3 separate regions of the Homo sapiens genome follow, and all the other regions are linked to region 1. Evidence: promoter capture Hi-C in human tissues and cell types (Jung and others, 2019). All regions are on one chromosome and are shown on one strand. Each heading gives the region's core, a stretch centred on a gene start or on the middle of the fragment in contact. The rest is flanking DNA. Distances are from core to core; before and after follow the strand shown. Region 1 holds the start of C1orf198 (chromosome 1 open reading frame 198). Region 2 overlaps EXOC8 (exocyst complex component 8). Region 3 holds the start of TRIM67 (tripartite motif containing 67).

The links. Contacts are between HindIII fragments. The study calls those that stand out against the background at their distance.
Region 2: a contact is called between a fragment that was not itself captured here and the fragment with the promoter of C1orf198 in region 1, in 1 of the 25 tissues and cell types used here (psoas muscle).
Region 3: a contact is called between the fragment with the promoter of TRIM67 here and the fragment with the promoter of C1orf198 in region 1, in 1 of the 25 tissues and cell types used here (ovary).

What each region holds. Positions count from the first base shown.
Region 1 is chr1:230,866,718-230,870,589 of GRCh38, forward strand. It overlaps C1orf198 (chromosome 1 open reading frame 198), which reads right to left and starts at 1,804. Exons shown (of 4, transcript NM_032800.3): 1 at 1,463-1,804. The coding sequence starts at 1,795. RefSeq lists a silencer at 1,733-1,952 and an enhancer at 1,776-2,367. The HindIII fragment of the contact is 20,091 bases long and covers 1-3,872 here.
Region 2 is chr1:231,330,069-231,333,940 of GRCh38, forward strand. EXOC8 (exocyst complex component 8) reads right to left here. Exons shown (of 1, transcript NM_175876.5): 1 at 2,685-3,872. Among named protein-coding and RNA genes, the nearest start is that of EXOC8, 5.8 kb to the right of the region's middle. The HindIII fragment of the contact is 5,987 bases long and covers 1-3,872 here.
Region 3 is chr1:231,160,013-231,163,884 of GRCh38, forward strand. It overlaps TRIM67 (tripartite motif containing 67), which reads left to right and starts at 2,046. Exons shown (of 10, transcript NM_001004342.5): 1 at 2,046-3,872. The coding sequence starts at 2,958. RefSeq lists a silencer at 2,088-2,403 and an enhancer at 2,312-2,946. The HindIII fragment of the contact is 24,635 bases long and covers 1-3,872 here.

The DNA of each region.
Region 1 (3,872 bases), core at 554-3,053:
TGCTGCCTGCTTTTTCATCCCCCAAATCTGGGCGCAAACACTGCACACAAGTCTTTATAAATACGCCTATTTTCCCACTGAAAATGTTTCAGCTCTAGGAATACATTTTAAAACCTATATTTTCCCCTCCCCAGTTTACCACACCCTTGTTTTTCCTGGCAAAGCCATCAGAATTTGAAGTCCAGTAGAGAATTTCCTTTTGATTCCATCAGAATAAAGAAACACTGGCAGCATCCTTCAGTCATTTCACTTTTCCCTCACATTAAAGTGGGTTTATGACCATGAACACTTCGTATTAATAAATGTCTCAGCACACCCAAGCCTGAAAATCTGATCTAAACCTCCTTAACTTGAATTCCATCCACAATCCACAACTTCCTCGGAAAAAATCTCTCCCAGCTTCTCCTTCCTCTAGCCCAAGAAACAGCCTTAACAGCGAGCGATTTCATTCCTACACTCTTTGCTCAGCTTGACTTTGCTCCTCACGGCAAAAGTTGAGTTTGAAACGCCAAAGAGTCACAGTGCAAATTCTAATGGCACCAAACAGGCTTCGGTTAAACACATTTCTAAGAAAAAGAAGACCAAGTTTCTGAACCCTACAGAAGATTCAGGCGTTTGTGACTAAGTGTGGGTCATCCCTGAGCTTTTTCTGGAACAGATTCAGCGTTTCTACCTTCACAAATGACTGTCCCTCTAGCAGTCTGGACAGTGTCTAGATCTGAGACCTAAACATGCCCTGTTATGTGGCCAAGACTTACTGGAGCTCATTTAAACTTATCGTCCCTTAGTTTTTTGGTGGAAAACAGGGCCACCATGCTCACCCTTAAAACATACGCTGGGCATTGTGCTCACTTGGAAAACATCTTAGGGTGATGGATGGGTTTCCCTCCTTATCTTGGAAGACACCTTTTCTTCCTTGTTACCTGGCTTGGCAATTTTACTTTCCCCATACATCTCATCACAAGTATTCATGTTAGTATATATCATTTGCTCAGTCCCTTCACGGGCAGGCACGGGGTGGCGTTATTACCCCCGTTTTACACAGTGGAAACTGAGGCTCTAAGAAGTTAATTGACCCACCGCCATACAGGTAGTAAGTAGCAGAGCTGGATTAAAACCCAGGCTTGTCTGGTTTAAAATTGCTTGTTGTTTCCACTTTGGTCAGCCTCGCTTACGACAGCTCCGGGAGAAGTCTCTGGAGTCCGTGCGAGCCGGCGGATCAGGTCTAGATGGAGGTTCTTTAACGACCCACCTCTCGGCGATCTCTTAACCAACTCCCCCAGCGGAGCCCCCACCCCCCGAACTTCGGCTCTGGGGCTCCCCTCCCACCCACTGCCATTCCTGCCTTTTCTTTTCCAGCCCCTACCAGCTGGGGCGGCCTCACGCCGGCAGGTGCCCACCGGGCCGGGGCGCCTCGGGGCGCCGGGAGGGGAAGAGGGTCCGCGGCCAGGCCCGCACCTACCTCGTCCCCGAAGCGCACCACCTTCTGGCCCGTGGGCCCGCGCAAGCCGGGGAAGCGCGTGAGCTCCTCCGAGTCCCCGGGGTCTCGGGGCGCCGGGGCGCGCGGCCCCACCAGGCACCGGTCGATGATCTCGTCCTGCTGCGCGGGCGGCAGCCGCGCCCACTCGGGCCCGTACTTCTCGCGGATCTTCTCCTTGTCCTGCATGATCTTCCTGGCCATGGGGCTCAGCGACGAGAAGTAAGTGAAGCGCTTTCGCTCCCGGTCGTCCAGAGGCCGGTTCCCGCTCATGACCGCCGAGCGCGAAGCCGCGATCGCCGCCGCCATGGACGCCATGCCCGGCCTGCCCGCCGCTCCCGGCCCGCGCCCCGCCCCTCGCTGTGCCCGCCCTCGCCCCGCCCCGCGCCACCCGGAGCCCCGCCCCCTCCGGGAACCCCGCCCTGCACCGCCGCGTACCCGGGTCTCCAAGCCAACCCAGCTCCCCAAGCCCCGGGACCCCGGCCCTCCGTGGCCCCCTCCCCGGGAGCTCCTCCCTCCGGGCCCCCCCCCGCCACCCCCTCGCGGACCCCACGAGTCCCCCTTTACGCCTCCATAGTGGATTACCGCGGTGCCCGCAGGTTTCGGGCTCCCCTTACCCGGCTCAGGTGGTAGCCGGCGTGTCCCTGAGTCCGCGCCCGGCGCTCTGAGAGGGTGGCCGTGGTTAATTCCCGGTAGTGACCGCCATAGCGCCACGTGGCCACTGCTTGACAAAGGAAACTTTTTTCAACCTCCAGTGAGCCTAAGAAAGCCCCAGCATTTCAGGCCAAGCCGCTGGCTGCCTGGCTTCTGTTTTTACTCCTTTCCTTCTGTCCCTTTCTGGGACGAGCCACACCTTCTCTGCTTTCTCTGGGCCCGTCCAGGACGCTGGGCCCGGGGCCTGGCGCGGTGAGCTGCAGATAGCCGGGGGCGCAGGGCAGCCCGGAGGCTGGAGGGCGACCTGGAAGGCTGGACCGGTTCGGGGCATCTGGTGCTCAAGGAAAGTCAGCTCCCGCCGCCCCTCGGGGCCAGGTGGGTGCATGAAGTACCCGGTGGCCCAGGTGCCTTTCCCCAACCCAAGGAGCTCAGAACTCTTGGCAGTTCGACGTTTGCAAACAAACCAAAGAGGAGCAGAAAGTTTTCAGACTCAGAGGCGACATCCCAACAGGTAGGGGGCCAGGGTTTGTAATTTTGAGGTGTGTCCCAGACAGACCACAAAATTAAAATTATAGCGAGCCCCCACTTCCCCCAAGCCCCTCTCTCCATCTGACTGATTTTAACAAGACTAACAGGACTCAGGTGAGAATTGTGTCCACTCGTAAAATAAAAAAACAAAAACAAAAACCAGCATTTCAGCTGTTATCCAGGGTCTTTGCCTGGATAGTTCTGAACACAAAAGTAGAAATAACTTGCAAAGTCCTATTTTAAATGTGAGATGGCCTCATCTTCCGGCCCAGAAATCCTCAGAATATTTTTGGAATGTCATGAATGTGGCAGGCTCTACAGTTAAAGACATTATTATCAACAATGTTCACAACATAATATATTGAAGCAGGGAAAGGCAAGCACCACCAAATATAGTCTCCACAGTAAGTGGCGGATTATTTATGAGACCGGAAGTTTAAGGACAGTTTTTTGGAGTATGATCTTCTGTTTGAGTTGATGCTAGAGAAGCTCAATACATTGACCTGAATCCCACTGATTTCTCTCCTCTAATCCTTGTTTAATAATATAGGTAATGTTTAAAGATATATTCTTGAAATTAATTAACATCCCCAGGCTTGCTTTGATATTCACATAAGAAGCTGTCCGTACCCTTAGAAACTTGGTCTCATGCTGTTTTCAAAGCAGTTGTGGAAATAATTGTTGCTTTCAAAAAAAAAAAAACCACAACCCCATGAGGTGTTTTGGGTCTGGCAATAATTGATTGTCAAAGAAGTTTTCAAGATAATAAAAGCGTGAGATAATTCAGGGACATTGGCCAAAGTATGTAAAGTCCATGATCTGGATGATAAGGGGCTAACTGAAAGAAAAATTCTTCCAGATTATAAGAAGAAACTCAGGGGAATTAAAGTATGGCTCTAACAGATGACTTGGCTGAAATTAGAAACTTTTTTTTTTACATATATCTTTATCTACTCCTGGAGGGAATAAAAATAGCCAAACTCCGGCCGGGCACGGTGGCTCACGCCTATAATCCCAACAGTTTGGGAGGCCGAGGCGGGTGGATCATGAGGTCAGGAGATCGAGACCACCCTGCCTAACATGGTGAAACCCCGTCTCTACTAAAAATACAAAAATTAGCTGGGCGTGGTGGCACGTGCCTGTAATCCCAGCTACTCGGGAGGCTGAGGCAGGAGAATCACTTGAACCAGGGACTCGGAGGTTGCAGTGAGCC
Region 2 (3,872 bases), core at 921-3,420, 460 kb after region 1:
TCAAATATTAAAATATAATAAATTACTAGAAGAAAAACATATTTTTAGAATCTGAGAGTGGGTAAGGCCTTCTTAAGCCTAACCGAAAACAGAAGTCATAAAGAAAAAAACCCAAATAAATCTGGCTTCATAACGGGTTAAAATTTACCATACTATGAAAATAAATAAACGGCTATACAAACAAATGACAAACTGAGAAAAACTACAGCAGTACACATGAAGGGTTAATTTCCTAAATATACAATAAACTCCCACAAAATCACAATACAAATATAATCTAAGAGAAAAGTGGCAAAAGATATAAACAGGAAGCTTAATAGAAAAAGAAAGTTGTTCAACCTCACTCATAATTACATACAAAACTAGAAGCTGGGCATGGTGGCTCATGCCTATAATGGAAGCACTTTGGGAGGCCGAGGTGGGAAGATTGCTTGAGCCCAGGAGTTCAAGATCAACCTGGGCAACAAAGTGAACACCACCCCCCACAACCTCTGCCCTGTATGTATAGAAAAATTTAAAAATTAGCCAGGCAGGAGGATCCCTTGGGCCAGGCCAGGGAGGTTGAGGCTACAATGAGGCATGATAGCACCATCGCACTCCAGCCTGGGCGATACAGTGAGATCCTGGCTCAAAAAACAAACCAACCAACAAACAAAAATGAGAACAACCTAGAAGCTATTTTTTCACAGAGAAGATTAGTAACAATGAATATTATTACTAATAAGATGACTTTTTTTTGAGACAGGGTCTCGCTCTGTCCCCCAGGCTAGAGTGCAGTGGTGCTGTCATGGCTCACTACAGCCTCAACCTCCTGGGCTCAAGCAATCCTCCTGCCTCAGCCTCCCGAGTAGCTGGGACTTACAGGTGTGCGCCACCACGCCCGGCTAATTTTTCTATTTTTTGTAAAGACGGGGGTCTACCTATGCTATTCAGGCTGGTCTCGAACTCCTGGGCTTAAGCAATCCACTCTCCTTAGCCTGCCAAAGTGTTGGGATTACAGACTTGAGCCACTGTGCTTGGCAAGGCTACTCTTAATTAAACAGTGAATGAATACAGGTTTATAAGCATTCATGTAAACAGGTATTTTCCTATACTGTTGGAGAGAACTTAAAAATGATATAACCCTCCTGATGAGCAACTGGTAATGCTTAAATTTAAAATGTAATTTGGCAGAGCAATTTCTAAAAATACATCCCATAGATATATTCGCATAAGCGAATAGGAGGATGTGCATAGGTTTTCAGAATTTTTTTTTTGTAATCAACAAAACTTGAAGCCAACCAAGTAATTGGAAAATGCAAAATTATGATATATTCATTCACTGTGATTGACAACTACCCAATCACAGAAGAAAAACCCAGTGGGGTACAGCAAGAGGTACTGATACGAGATGTCTTAAAACACTGAACTGCTAAGTGACTAAAATCAAGATGCAGAACTGTATGCAGAGTATGATACAATTTCTGGAAAAATATGTACATGAAATTCTTACTAGTAGTTACCTCTAGTGAATGGGATTGTTGGGGGGATGAGGACTTTTATTTTTTACTTTAACTCTTCTGCACATTGCATATGGATTGAAGCTTGCTTTGTAGGCAAATGTGGCTTATTTACGCTTTTCCAAACTCTGCAATTCATCCAGGAAGGTCTCTTCATATGACACCCACATTCCCACTTCTGTGCCTTGGGCTCAGGTCCTACTCTTCCATTTTCTTTGCACATTTAAGTCTTGTCCATTCTTCAAGGACCCGCTCAAATGCCAACAATTCCATGAGAACTTTCTAAACTCCTTAAAAGTACACTGCTCTCTTCCTTCTTGGTATTTCCACTGTACACAGCTGTGCATTTGATTATTCTCTCACTTATATTTGTTGACTTTTTCCAATTTCTAAGCATCTTAAGAGGACGAAGTATGTTTAAAATTATTAAAATTCTTCTGCACTCCCACATTACAGTCAATATGAAGCATAGCATTCAATACTTTTAAATATGTGATAGTTTCCTCAGGATATACATATTACTTTCAAAAGGGCAAGCCTGGCCGGGCATGGTGGCTCACGCCTGTAATCTCAGCACTTTGGGAGGCCGAGGCGGGTGGATCACCTGAGATCAGGAGTTCGAGACCAGCCTGGCCAACATGTTGAAACCCCATCTCTACTAAAAATAAAAAAATTAGCCGGGCATGGTGGCGGGCCCCTGTAATCCCAGCTACTCAGGAGGCTGAGACAGGAGAATGGCTTGAACCCAGGAGGCAGAGATTGTAGCGAGCAGAGATCACGCCACTGCACTCCAGCTTGGGCGATATGGGAAGACTCTGTCTCAAAAAAAAAAAAAAAGGCCAAGCCTTGTCATTTAGTTCCTAGGTCTTGTGGCCTACATTTTATTTTCTTTATTTAGAGATGTGCAGATGGTATAAAATCTACTTTTTTATAATAAATTCACATTTTGTACCTCTGAAATTTTCCATTCGAGGGAATTTTAAAAAATTGAGATCTGATTTATTCACAATTCTGACGGTAAGCAGAACACTTACTTAATTTAGCAAACAGCTTCCTAAGTATCCTCCCCACATAAATAAAACAAAAAACTAGGGTCTTCAAAGAATATTTCAGTAACAAGAATATAAAAATATTGAATACCAACTAAAGAAGAGCAATAGATATAATATCTTAATATCACTTTTATCCAGTGTAAGACAATTTTTAAGCTTTATTTTTATGAAACATTTCAGATTCCCTCATATCACAGCACATCAATAAGCAGTATGTACATAGACTGACTTTTATAGTACATGTCATGTCCCAAATTCCCAATCCTAGGTAAGATATCAAGTTACAAAATACAAGTGCCGATAATTAAACTATAGGTAGTATATTAAACAAAAATGAGTTTTTAGCAATTATGTGAAATAAGGCTTTAACCAAAGCAAGACTTAATGCCACAAGGTGTCTTTTTTCCCCAAGAGTAATTAATTCAATCAAGCCCATGATTCCAAGCTCAAGTAACAAGTTTTATATTCTTGAAGCAAACAAGAAAAGGCAATCAATGCTTAAGTGGTATATTTTAGTATATATTACATTTCTGGACAATCTCTCATTGCATTCAATTTTTAGAACTTGTCTTGGGTCTAATAAAACAGAAGAATTAGAGAAGAAAGCCCATGCCACTTTGAGGAATGTAACATAATTGTTTTGTCTGGGTACAAAGGTACGTTACAACACTGGGGGTCTTTAGTCAAGTTCCCATACTAATTGACTCACCAAAGCATACTTCCTTCAGCTACAACTGTAATTGGAACACACAGATTTTACCTGAAGAAAATCCTGTACTTCCAGTTTTAAAAAGCAGACAATTCTATGAAGAAGCAACCATTTAAATATCTAACTATACACATTCAAGTTTTTACAACTTCATGCCTTATGAGGAATTTTGATTTCAGAAGTATCATTCCACAGACTCAGCATCATATATTTATACATATTTCATACAGTATAGTATTAGAAACTGTAAATGGCACAGAATAATCATAATTATCACAAAATTTTATCAATTTCCAGTGATCTTAAAAAGACAAATTATAACCGCCTTTGCTCAGCTAAGATATCCAGTTATGGTTACAACTTTCGAAAATCCTAAAGTTATGTGAAAAAAATTAGTCAAAGAAAATCTGTAAATCTGATACTTTCCAATATTTTAAATATGCACAGCTAAAGAGAAAATAAAGGGGTTGATCTGGCACATGAATAATTAAGTCAATGAATTTTACAACCCTGAGCCACTTTGGCAACTACTTTAGGTTTCACATAATTTTCACAGTCTTAGTACCACCATTTTCATTCAGATAAAAGAAATGACCTTTTGAAATCATGGGC
Region 3 (3,872 bases), core at 796-3,295, 290 kb after region 1:
CCTACCCCCAAGCAGTTTGTTTTGGTCCGAAAATGACAAAGGAGACTGGACTTCAGCCATATGGCTGCTGGTTTGGGGCAGACCTGTTCACAGTAGAACCATAAGAGGTTATGACTTCCCTTGTGGTCACCAGGAGGCTGGGCTGAGCCGGCGTAAATGATGGCACTTGCTAGGGTCACAGAAATGCATCTTTAAGTGCATTCAATTACAGACCTACCCATACACTGCGTTTCTGACATGACCCTGAAGATTCCATAGCACATTTCTGGAAGGCTTATCTGAGAGTTGCAGGCAGGATCCAGCTCATTGTGGCTTTATCTACACAAGGCAGATGAGGACAAGGTTGTTACCATCTCCCATCTGTGGCTACTGATGCCTGGTTAAATAATTGTTCCAAGTCCCCTAGCTGAGGGGAAGTAGAGTCAGGTCTCTTAATGCTGTGCGATGCTCTATCTGGCCTTAGCTTGGCCTACTCTTCAACTTTGGCACAAACTGGAAGCAAGCTGCAAAGCCGGACTAAAGGTTCATAGGATTTTAAAACAGAGCCTGGCGTGGTGGCACAGGCCTGTAGTCCCAGCTACTTGGGAGGCTGAGGTAGGAGGATTGCTTGAGTCCAGGAGTTCGAGGCTGTAGTGAGCTATGATCACGCCACTGCACTCCAGCCTGGGCGACCCAGAGAGACTCCAACCGCCGCCCCCACAACAAAAACAGAAAGTAGGAAACGCCGTCTGTATTTGCAACTAGCTCGTTTAGTTCTCAGACATGAGTATTATGACAATATTCATTTGGCATTTCAGGATCCGAGCGAGGGAAAGCCTAAGCGAGCTGCTGAGTGGGGCCAGTGGTCCCGGGGCGTCCTGACTTCCAAGGCTCTGGGCCTTCGTGCTGCGGCCAGGAGCGCGTCGCCAAGCGCCTCCCCAAGGGTCCCCCTGCAGGGGTTCCTGTCCCCTAGGCACAGAGCCCCAAGCCCTGGGCGCAGGCTGCAGCTTCCCCCTGCCTGACCCCGCCAGCCTGCGCCTCCTCACCCGGGGACTAGCAGAAGCCTGGGCCCGCGCCTGGCGCTACGACTCCGGTCTTTAGTCTTTGTTTGGAGCACGGGAGAACCTGGGACGGAGGGAGGCATGACTTCAATATTCATATCGTTGTTAAATAAACGATTTCCTAATTTGTATCTGTTTCATGCCAGCGTGAAACTTCTGTAGGCAGAGCCGGCTGCGCTGCCAGCACTTTCTTCTGCTCGTCCCCACCCACCTCTGCCTCCCCCACCCAGCCTTCCCTCGGCAGCAGCGGGGAAGAACAGCCGAGCAGACCAAACAGCCGGGGCCGCGGGTGGGAGGCTGTTCCCGCAGCTCGTGGCTGGCGTTGGAGAATGTGGAGATTTTCCCATTCATAAAAGGAACGTCTCCGCTTGCCGCCTTCCCGTCCGCCGCACACCGCCACATCCGCAGCGGGGTAGGGCTGGGTCTGGGGGCGCTGGGTTCCCAGGGGTCTACCCGGGCGCGCTCTCGCCTTTCTCAGGAAACCCCATTTTGTGAGCGGCACCGCGTGTCCTCTCTCAGTCCGTGCACACAGTTGACCTGGAGCGCGGATGAGCACCCTTGGTTGAAAGGAAGAGACAAAATGGCTTGTGGTTCAATTCATAAATAAAACCTCACCCTTGGACTTCAGGCTGCCCGACATTTTGGGACTTGGATTTTTTTGCTTTATCGTAGTTTTAGGAAGCGACTGTCAGGCCATGTTGCCTATCCATTTCTAAACGACTGGCTTTTTAGGATCCCGTTTTCACCCTTCTATGGCGGTGGGTTGGGGGTGGGGTGTGGAACTGGAGTGGCCCAGGGAGACGATGGCAGGGGCGGGGCGGGGCAGGTCGTTGTACTGATTCAAGATACAATCTCCATCCAAATAATGGATTGTTATTAACAATGATCCTCCCTGCAAAACCCTTAAAATTGCCCCTTGATTCCCTAGCAGCAAGAGGCGAGCCCTTATTCGCTGAGCTGAAGCCTCCTCCCCCCTCCTCCCCATTACTCTCTGCTCTGGAAATTACAACTCCTCGGCGCGCCGCGCGGGGAGGCAGCGGCAGCGGCGGGAGGGAGGCGGGGAGGGGATTCCCGAGCCAGCCGGACGCTCGCCCTCCGCCCGCCGGCTGCAGCGTCGCGCGGCCCAAGGTCAGAGGCGCCGCAGGAGCAGCAGCTGGGAACCAGGGAAGCGGGTCAATCCCGGCCGCAGGGAGAAAGCCCCAGGGCGCAGTCAGCCGGCGTCCACAGCCGCCCAGGAGTAGGGTGAGCGGCTGTCTCCGGGCCGGTCGGGTCCCGCCGAGGTGGCCGCGGCCCCAGCGACCCGGCGGGTGGCGGCCCAGGGGTCGGCGAGCAGGCAGCTGGAGCCCCACCTTCGGCTCCCGGGCGCTGTCCGCCGCCTCGTGGTGCTGATCCCAGCCCCACGGCTGAGCGGCCTTCGCACCTGCCTGTCTCACCTCGCTATCACCCCGATAAGGAGTTGGGCCGGGGCAGAAGGGGGGCCTCGGGGTAGCCGCCCACCGGAGCCAGGGGCTGAAGCAGCGAGCGCACAGCAGCCCGGCCGCTGGTCCTGGGGTGGAGAGGAGGCGCGCGCTGCAGCCGGCGGCGGCGCTGGTGCTGATTCATCACCTAAAGCTCCTCGCAGGCCACCGCGAGGGCAGCCGACCGGCTCCGGAATCTGGCCGCAGGTTGAAGCCGCTGGTGCGGGACCCTCGGGCAGGAGGTGAGGACCCCCTCCCTTCTCTCGCCCCTCAATCATCTTAGGGCGGTGGCTACAGGACAGAGAGAGGGGCGTGCCCCTCGGCTGTGAAGTGGGCATGCCCGTGTGATGCCCCCGCCCGTCGTCTCACCGGGGCGCACCGCGCTGGTCCTCCTCCGCCAGTCTCCCGAGCTCCGGCCATTCATCCCCAGCGCAGAGCAGCGCTGGCAGCCGGCGCCGCGATGGAGGAAGAGCTGAAGTGTCCCGTGTGCGGCTCTCTGTTTCGGGAGCCTATCATCCTGCCCTGTTCCCACAATGTCTGCCTGCCTTGCGCTCGCACCATCGCGGTGCAGACCCCGGACGGTGAGCAGCACCTGCCCCAGCCGCTCCTGCTTTCCCGGGGATCGGGGCTGCAGGCGGGCGCCGCCGCCGCTGCCTCTCTGGAGCACGACGCTGCGGCTGGCCCGGCCTGCGGCGGTGCAGGCGGGAGTGCAGCTGGCGGCCTCGGCGGCGGTGCGGGAGGTGGCGGAGACCACGCGGACAAGCTCAGCTTGTACAGCGAGACAGACAGCGGCTACGGGTCCTACACCCCGAGCCTCAAGTCCCCCAACGGGGTTCGCGTGCTGCCCATGGTGCCCGCACCACCCGGCTCCTCGGCTGCGGCGGCTCGGGGTGCCGCCTGCTCCTCGCTGTCCTCGTCTTCGAGCTCCATCACGTGCCCGCAGTGCCACCGCAGCGCATCCCTGGACCACCGCGGCCTGCGCGGCTTCCAGCGCAACCGGCTGCTCGAGGCCATCGTGCAGCGGTACCAGCAGGGCCGCGGGGCCGTGCCGGGGACGTCTGCAGCCGCGGCGGTGGCCATCTGCCAGCTGTGCGACCGCACCCCGCCAGAGCCAGCAGCCACGCTCTGCGAGCAGTGCGACGTCCTCTACTGCTCTGCCTGCCAGCTCAAGTGCCATCCATCCCGGGGACCCTTCGCCAAGCATCGCCTGGTGCAGCCGCCGCCGCCGCCGCCGCCGCCCGCCGAGGCAGCCTCCGGGCCCACTGGCACCGCCCAGGGCGCCCCCAGCGGAGGCGGCGGCTGCAAGAGCCCGGGAGGCGCGGGGGCGGGGGCGACTGGGGGCAGCACGGCCCGCAAGTTCCCCACGTGTCCCGAG